Linked DNA regions of Homo sapiens: region 1 is linked to region 2. Evidence: promoter capture Hi-C in 16 types of primary human blood cells and fetal thymus (Javierre and others, 2016). All regions are on one chromosome and are shown on one strand. Each heading gives the region's core, a stretch centred on a gene start or on the middle of the fragment in contact. The rest is flanking DNA. Distances are from core to core; before and after follow the strand shown. Region 1 holds the start of TOB2 (transducer of ERBB2, 2). Region 2 holds the start of ST13 (ST13 Hsp70 interacting protein).

Evidence for each region. The method cuts DNA at HindIII sites, captures the fragments that hold promoters and counts their contacts. A CHiCAGO score of 5 or more calls a contact.
Region 1: a contact is called between the fragment with the promoter of TOB2 here and the fragment with the promoter of ST13 in region 2, in 1 of 17 cell types (fetal thymus). The highest score is 7.6, in fetal thymus.

Annotation. Positions count from the first base shown.
Region 1 is chr22:41,445,403-41,449,552 of GRCh38, forward strand. It overlaps TOB2 (transducer of ERBB2, 2), which reads right to left and starts at 1,399. Exons shown (of 2, transcript NM_016272.4): 1 at 977-1,399. It overlaps LOC105373043 (a long non-coding RNA gene), which reads left to right and starts at 1,543. Exons shown (of 2, transcript XR_938274.2): 1 at 1,543-2,630; 2 at 2,717-3,491. RefSeq lists enhancers at 1,169-1,864, 1,611-1,860, 1,865-2,560 and a silencer at 2,431-2,530. The HindIII fragment of the contact is 7,856 bases long and covers 138-4,150 here.
Region 2 is chr22:40,854,864-40,859,232 of GRCh38, forward strand. ST13 (ST13 Hsp70 interacting protein) reads right to left here and starts at 1,776. Exons shown (of 12, transcript NM_003932.5): 1 at 1,568-1,776. The coding sequence starts at 1,677. It overlaps XPNPEP3 (X-prolyl aminopeptidase 3), which reads left to right and starts at 2,285. Exons shown (of 10, transcript NM_022098.4): 1 at 2,285-2,382. The coding sequence starts at 2,319. RefSeq lists enhancers at 1,504-2,273, 1,901-2,120, 2,131-2,590. The HindIII fragment of the contact is 3,469 bases long and covers 1-2,931 here.

The DNA.
Region 1 (4,150 bases), core at 149-2,648, 590 kb after region 2:
AAGCAATAGGATTGTTTTTCTGCCGGAAAATCAGAGATGAAGGACCCATTCCCAGGGTACGGTGGGTAAGAAGGAGAAAAAGACCGTTTAGATACGGAGTAGCACCAGAGACTGGCCTCCACCCGTCCCCAAGCTGAAGCTTGCTGTGCGGGGTTCTGGTTTCTCCTGGGGGAGGGAGAGGGCCTGCCGGCTGTGCCTCCTCTCTGCACCCTCCTTCCCCTCCCAGATTTCTGGTGGTCAAGGGCACAGTTCATCCTCCGGACAGGAGGGGAAGGAGTTTGGGGGTAGGGCCCCACCTCGCAGGCACCTTACCAAGATAAGCAGAATCCACTCACTGGCACTGCTCTAAGGGTACTTTTTTCTGCCCAATTTTCCATTAAAACACTTAAGAGTATAAAGAGCTCAGCCGAAACGGTGAACTCTGGCTCAGTGGCCCAAGGACAATCTCCACTGACCTGTCCCGTCGCCAAAGGGGGTGTCCACCCTCCACCCTTCAGGCTCCACAGAGCCAGAAATAGAGTCTATTAACAATTACCACCCCCCTTCCCTGCACACGGGAAAAGAAGCAGAAAAACAAGGCCTGGATCCCCTTCCTTCCTCGGATTTATTTAACGGTGGGGGGAGTTATGTTTCTTTGGAGAACAAGGAAGATCTAGCGAGTAGCTAGGATATAAAGAACCGGGGGAGGCGGGGAAGGGAGGAAATGCACCCCACCCAGGAGAGGGCCACTCTTGGAACTGGGAGAAAAAGGAGCTCTTGGGCACCCCAGGAGCACAGATGGCGTGAGAAGAGGAGCTGGGGAAAGTGGGGTCTGGAGGGAAGCTGGATGGGGAAAGAAAATGCTGGCCAGGCGGGGAGGGAGCGGCAGCAACGTGGAGAGTCCAGCAAAGCGGGAGTGGGGCGGGGTGGAAGAGGTAGTCCGGCCGGCTGGGTCTCGGGGCGGGCCCCCCGCCCGCACGCCCCCCAACTCACTCACTCGGGTCTCCGCGGCGGCGGGGCGCTCTACCGGCCGCGGGGCGGCTTCTCCCTCCAGGGTGGCCTGAGCGCGGGGCGGAGGTCGCTCTCCTTTCCTTCCCGGGCGTCGCCGGGCCAGGGGACCGAAGTCCTTTTCGTCGTTGAGGGTTGGGGGACGAAGCAGGGGGCTATGGACTATGACTCTCAATAATTTCTTTCAGCTCTTAGGAGGTCGGGCTCGGCAGCGGGGGGCCCGAGGGCGGGCGGGCGGACTAGCGGCGACGACGCGGGGATGGCGGATCGGAGGGTGGTTCGTGTCGCGCAACGGCAGACGGTATGGGCTGTCGCCGGCAGACGGTCCTGCCCTCCTGGCCCCGCGTCGCCCGAGCCACGGCTTGCCTCAGCCAACAACCCGCACCTTCCCGCGCCCCGGCCCGAAGTGAGCAAAGTCAATGAAAAGTTTCACCCTTAGCAACCCTGCGCACGGATCCGGCTTCCCCACCCCTGCGTGATGCGTCCCTCCGCCCTGCAGGGGCGGGGCCAGGGCCCGGCCGGGACTACTTCCCAGCCAGCCCCGCGCCTCAGCTCGCTGGTATCTCGCGGAGCAGCTCCTGTGCCCTTCTGTGCTCGCCGGTCGTGCGTCCGGCTCCCCGTCTTCCCCTCCCTGTCACAGCGCCGCGCCGCACTCCTTTCCTTCATTCCCATACCACTCTGAACTTGTGCGCGTCGTGTGAGGTGTTCTCCCAGGGGCGCTCCGTGAGGGCCGGGGACCACCTGGGGCCGGGTTGCTCACGAGCCGGGCACAGTGCACTCTCCCTTTAGTTGTGTTTGGGGGACGAGTATCGCGGGGGAGGGGAGGGAGTCACCATGCCCGCCGGAAACCCCCCGCTGAGTCGTCCGCCCTGCACCTGCCTCGGAGCCCATGGTTCGGACGTTTGCCCGAGCCGTTTCCCGGGGCCTTCCCTCCAGCTCCGAGCGTCTGGCCGTGTCCGCGGCGATAGCATCGCCCCGTTACGGCCTCTGCGGGAGGGGGAACTGAGGGGACGACGCGGGCTCTGGAAACATTTCGGACCCGTTTCGGGCAGGCATGAGTCTTCCGAGCGCCTTGTGATTCCTCGGGGGGCTCAACGTCGAAAGAAAGGCGAGGGAGACTCTGGGGCCTGGGCCACGCTGTGCGGGAGTAAGAGGAGCCGAGGACGAGGCTGACGGCCGTGAAACTAGCCGAGTGCCACAAAGGACCTTCCCCTCACCGCCTCTGGCGCTCCTTTCCTTGCAGCCTGGAGGGCCGGCTCTGGCTCTGCGCAGGCGCGCGGGCGCAGCCCCTCTCCCAACTCTTGTTTGCTCTTTCTGGCCAGCGACCCCAGTGTGGGGCACGCGGGAGAGCCCCACATTTCTTCTAGTCGCAGTCCCGCCGGCGTGGGGTGGCCCCTGACCGTGCAACGGGCGCAAGGCTCGCACCCACTACGGCCCCTCGGGCGGCGGAGCGAGGCTCCGCGAACCCGGGACTGGGCGCGCCAGGCCCGCGCGCTGAGGCCCCCTCCCCCGGCTCTGGCCACGCGGGCTGCTCTGCCTCTGTGAGTGTGCGGGACACAGAGCCAGGGGGAGGGAGGGCCGTGTTCTGCGGTCACAGGCAGACAGGAGTGCCGGAAGATGCAGTCTGGAGCCCCCGGGGGACTGTGAGTGAGGTCTTCTCCCCGGTCCCTCCTTAGATCTCCCATTTCCCAGTTCTCCCCTCCCGCCCACACCTTTTTTGTCATTCCAGACGGTTCCGGCCCAGCAGCAGCCGCCATCCCCACGTTGGGTGGCGAGATCCGAAAGTTTCCAGCTACGAACAGTTTGCTTTTTTTTTTTCCTTGATCGCTTTTTTTGGCAAGGGCGGAGAGCACCAGTAGCGTGGGGGGTTTAAATGCACTTTCCCTGAATGCAACAGAGAAATGCCGGGCTGGAGGGCAAACTCCACCGGGACAGGGAGGCGGGAGATAGCCTGAGCGCCCCCCCATCCCCCACACTCTGAGCGTCGCAACCCCGGGGGCACCTCCAGGGACTACTTGCCTTGTGCGTCAGCGAGTGACAGCGTCACACACACGCCCCCTCCCGCACATGCCCGCTGCACCCTCCCTTTCCCCCTCCCCTTCCCTTCTCTCTTTTCCCCTAGCTCTTCCCACCAGGCAGAGAGGCTCAGCCGACCCACACGCTCCCAGAGCACTGAAAGCTAAAAATATAGCCGGTGTGTTAGCAACAGCCTTCCCATTGGTCGGGGGAAAGGGAGAAGCGGTGTCTGATTGGGTTTAGGATCCAGCCGCTAAGACTGGGCCCTTGGGAGTGTGCGTTTGCGCCAGCGGGCACGGCAAGGGATGCTGGTATTTGTAGTCATTGATTAAGGCAGCCATGTAAATAGGTGGGTTTACATCCCAGTTCGGCTACCGACTGTGTGATCTTGATTTAATGCAGCAAAACGCTTGACATCACCAAACCTCAGTTTCCCCATCTATAAAATGGAGCTCGTGTCGGGGATTAAATATGATGCTGTATGTAAAGCCTGGCTCAAATCGTTGCTATTCTTAATTTAAAGATTAGTGTTTGGGCCAAATTGCCTCTGCACATCCTGCATATCCTGGGCTGAGTATGGTGTCCACTCTCCAATGTGAAACTTCTGACAATGGTAAAGGTGAAGGTGAGCTGAAGCGAGTTGTCCTACGGCATCTTAGGAGGAACAGCTGGAGTACATATAAGCAGTTAGAGGGTAGACGTCTTCTACCATTCCGGACAGGTTGAGGGAGGGCGGACTGAATCCTTGGAAGGAAGGCCATGAGTTTCTGCATGTTTGTGCGTTTAATAGAATCTCTTCTGCAACGCTGGAAAGACATCAGCCCTGAGTAGCATCATTAGAATGAAATGAGAAATCCAGCCTCCTTGGTGGGAGCTCTGGGTAAAAGGTTAGCATATAAGTAGGAAAAGATAAAATCGAGGGGAAAAAACGTAACCGCCCTTCTCAACTGCTGATGTCTCCATTTATCATGTGGTGATGAAGTTTTTTTTTCCTTCCCAGTGTGTGATTACATCTTGCCAGGGCTTAATTGTGAGCTGAATGCCTACTCAGGCATTCCAGATTCCCCTCCCATTTTGAATAATCATATGTTGAACGGCATGCACCGTGCTTGCAAAATAGTGAGCTCCATGAGCAAGCAAGTGAGGC
Region 2 (4,369 bases), core at 526-3,025:
AGCCCTCAATTCCTAATCCTGACATTTCCCGGTTGAGGAGTTTGCAAAATAGACTTCTTACCAATATTCATAAAGTTACTATTAACATAGTAATATTAAATGGTCTCAGAATTTCACATATAAGTAAGTCTTCCAGTAGTTAGACAATTGGTGGGGAGCTAAAAATTGAAAAACTTCTTAGAGGAAAAAAATACAACATACAACGCTGACAGATTGTAACGAGTTTTTTCCTTAGAACCAGATTGTTGTTAAGAAATATTCTTTGAGCTATTTGGTAATCATGAGCTCATCTTCCCACACAAAAATATCACGCTGGGTGAAGTGGCTCACGCCTGTAATACCACCACTTTGGGAGGCGGGGGAGTCCCTTGAGGCCAGGAGTTCAAGACAAGCCTGGGCAACTTAATGGGACCCCCATCTCTACAAAAAAATTAAATTAGCCAAGTATGGTGGCTCGATCCCGCACTGCTAGCCACCTGGGAGACTGATGCAGGAGGATCGCTTGTGCCCAGGAATTGGAGGCTGCAGTGATCCCGCCACTGTATGCGGCCTGGACAATACAGCCAAACCCTGTCTCTAAAAGACAAAAGTCACTAAACACATAACGTTCACAGCAGCACCTCTTAGGAGTCGCAATGGTCTGCATAGTTGCTATTTATCCCTGTTTAGTGCAATTTGTATGTCATCTTTTCAGTTCCCCATTAGTAATAATTTTTTAAAAAGTCATCTTAGGGAAGACTTCCCTGTCACTTTTTCTCTTCGGTGCTCCTTCAACACATAAAATGCTAATTACTATTATATAGTAAATATCAAAACGAACTTTTCTATTTATTCGTCTAAATAGACAGTACTTATACTGTTTCCTAGCACCAGGCACAATGCCTTGTCAATTAACTCCTTGCACGTAGCGAAGTACTCTACAGTTAAAGACAACAAGATTATATCCTGGAAACATGCCAGGCCTTAAGAAATTATTTTTCTCAGACGTGTTTGGAGTGATAACACTGCCAAGTAACGGAGGTATAATAAGTGATTCTCAAGATAATTAATCCTACGCAGCTACAAACGCTGTAAGGTAAAAACAATCATTTTTACAGTTATCATTTTTATTCTTACTAGTTTTGTAACTTTTAACTTACTAGTGTTATATTATTATAACACGACGTAAAGGAATAGTGCGTAAAGGAACTGCTATGTACCAATGAGACCTGAGCAGGGCACACAAGACTGAAAGAAAAACAACCCCACGCAAAATCTAAGTCTTGCAGTTTTCACTCCTCGCGTCTCCAGTGTCCACGCATCCGCAGTCCTGTTTTTGTATTTCGCCCAAGATACACCCCTGGGCAACCTCAGGGTGCGAGGAACCCAGCTCTGCCTCCTGCTCCCCGCGGCTCCTGTACTACCCAAGGCTCGCGATCTTCCATGACCCCTCGAAGTTGCCTCCCTTTCCCGGGCAAAGAAGGGGCAGCGACCCCGCCTCGCCCGCCGGACCGAGCCAGGTCCAGCCTGGCTCCCCCCTGGGGCCGTGCTTCCCCCGCCCCCAACGGTCCTCAGGCCTGGGTCTCACCTCTCCACCCACTCCCTCAGGAAGCGCATTTCCTCGGTGTGCAGAACGCTCGGATCCTGCTTACACATTTTCACAAAGGCCCGAAGCTCGTTCACTTTGCGGGGGTCCATGGTAGGGAGGTGGTGGGCGAAACTGGGGGGGCTACGGCCCGGTTCCAGGCCCAGGCGCTGGCTCGGCGTGACCGCGCAGAAGGGGGCGGCTGCCGCAAGACAGAACAGACTAGAACCTCCCCGGCCGCTGGCTCCTCCCACCCAACGGTCTCGTGACCTCGGGTCCTCCGCCTGCTCATTCCTACTCCCTCTGCGCTGCTCCTGCGCGCTCCCTAGAATCTTCTAGAAGCGTGGCTGTTCGTGCTGTTGCCTGCCTCCCTGCGCATACATTCTCATATTCTTAACTAGGAACCAGCTCCCTGGATGGGGCAACCCCAGAAATGGGCGACTTCAAGGAGGCGGGAGATAACATCCCCTCCAGGGGGCGACGTCCAAGAGCATATTGTGTGGCTGCGTGCACTGAGTAGAGCTCAACGCCCGGGACCTAAAAAAAAAAAAAAAAAAGGGCGTGGAGCCGGAGGGTCGGTCCCAGCTCGGGGCATGACGTCACAACCTGCGCCGCCGCGCAAGGAAGGCCCGCGAGCCGCCTCCGCCGGAAGGGGAGGTGCGGCTGGCCCGGTTTCCTGGCGACGCGGCCCTGCAGGCGGTTGCGTTCCCCGTCGTTACCCTCTTTCTCTTCCCGACGCGTGAGTTAGGCCGTAATGCCTTGGCTGCTCTCAGCCCCCAAGCTGGTTCCCGCTGTAGCAAACGTCCGCGGCCTCTCAGGTTAGACTCTTCTCCCACGGTCTCCTCCCATGGTGTCCCCTGGAGGGACCCAAGTTGGTCTCAGGCGATCCCTGGTTCGGCTGACCCTTCTCCTGGTGGGGCCTCCGCTCCCCAACCCTCTGTGCTCCGCGGATTTCTTCTATACCGGCTGCTCCTGGAAAGGGGTGGGCCCAGTGTGTTCTCTACCGTTGAGGTATTTTGTGAAGCCGAAATGACTGCAGAGAGAAAAGTGTGCCATCCCCCAGAGGGGCTGTCTTCCAAGTTACTCGGACTCCGAAGTTGTGGCAATTATCACACTTAAGTGACAAAGTGTCTCACATCAAGTAGCTCTTGTTTCTGTTAGGCGTGAGAGCTTGCTCCAGAATATACACGAAGCATGTTTAGTAACAAATTCTTTCAGCAGCTCCTCTTAGGAGAGGTAACTGTTTCGAAATACTTCTGGGGCGTTCTGTGTCTGAAAGTCCTGTTTGCAAAGACAAGACGAAGGATAAGGAGAATAATTTTTTGTAGGGTGTCCTCTATTGCGAGCAATTAATCTGATGAACATAAAGCTTAATCAGTGAAAACTGAATCACCTTCCTTGCAGGCGGATCTGCCATTGGATCGTATTTCAGTTTTTTGGGTCAATATATGAACAATGTGTGAACCAGAACGTATGGTATTTGACATCAAAGCTATGTCTTGGCATATGTTTATGTTGATATACTTGAATTCATTTAAAATGGAATGTTAATTACATCGACTTCTTACTATAAAAAATAAAAAGTTATTGTCCAGTGCACAGAACTTGTTCTTCAGTTCTCATAGTAAAGCTGCAGAAAGACAACTCTCCGTGGGATTAGGTGAAAAGAAAGATGTGCAATTTTTCAGTCTTTTTTTGAGACAGGCTCTCATTCTGTTGCTCAGACTGGAGTGCAGTGGCAATCTCTGCTCATTTGCAACCTCTGCCTCCTGAGTTCAAGCAATTCTCGTGCCTCAGCCTCCCGAGGTAGCTGGGATTATAGGCGTGTGCCACCACGCCTGGCTAATTTTTGTAATTGTAGTAGAAACCAGGTTTTGCCACGTTGGCCAAGCTGATCTCGAACTCCTGGCCTCAAGCGATCCACCCTCCTCTCTGAGCCACCGCCCCAGGCCTGGAATTTGCTTTTATTTGAAAGGCTCTCCCCAGCCTGACTAAAGGAGCCATACTACCAGAAGGAACACTTGCAAAGGCACAGAACTCTAAAACGGAGTGGCCAGCACTAAGCGTTGCAATCGTTTAGTATGGCTGGAGAAGCTTTTTTTTTTTTTTTTTTTTTTTTGAGACAGAGTCTTGCTCTTGTCGCCCAGGCTGGAGTGCAGTGGCGCGATCTCTTGCCTTACTGCAACCTCCACCTCCCGAGTTCAAGCGATTCTCCTGTCTCAGCCTCCCGAGTAGCTGGGATTACAGGCGCCCGCCACCACGCCTGGCTAATTTATGTGTTTTTAGTAGAGATGGGGTTTCACCATCTTGGCCAGGCTGGTTTTGAACCCCTGACCTCGTGATCCACCCGCCTCGGCCTCCCAAAGTGCTGGGATTACAGGCGTGAGCCACCGCGCCCGGCTTAGGAAAAGATTTTTTGAAAGATGTTCTCAAACAAAATAGTAGGCATTACACGAAAATGATTCTGTGATCAAATACTTTTGGGGAATGCTGCCTTTCATAATGTACATAATAGTTTAATTCTTTTTTTGGAGATGGGGTCTTGCCATGTTGCCCAAAGTAAACTTGAACTCTCACCTCAGCTTCTCAAAGTGTTGCGATTATAAGTGTGAGCCACTGCACCCAGCCCTTAATAGTCTAGGTTTCTGAGAGATGTGTTCCGCAGTAATTTGCAAAATGTGTAAAAATGTATTTGACCATGGACCCCTTTTCTGTGATGAATCTTGAACTGGTATCCCTGGAACAGATTTTGGGAGAAGTTGGGCTAGAGCATAAGATGAGTACAAGGAGCTGATAGGAAATCAA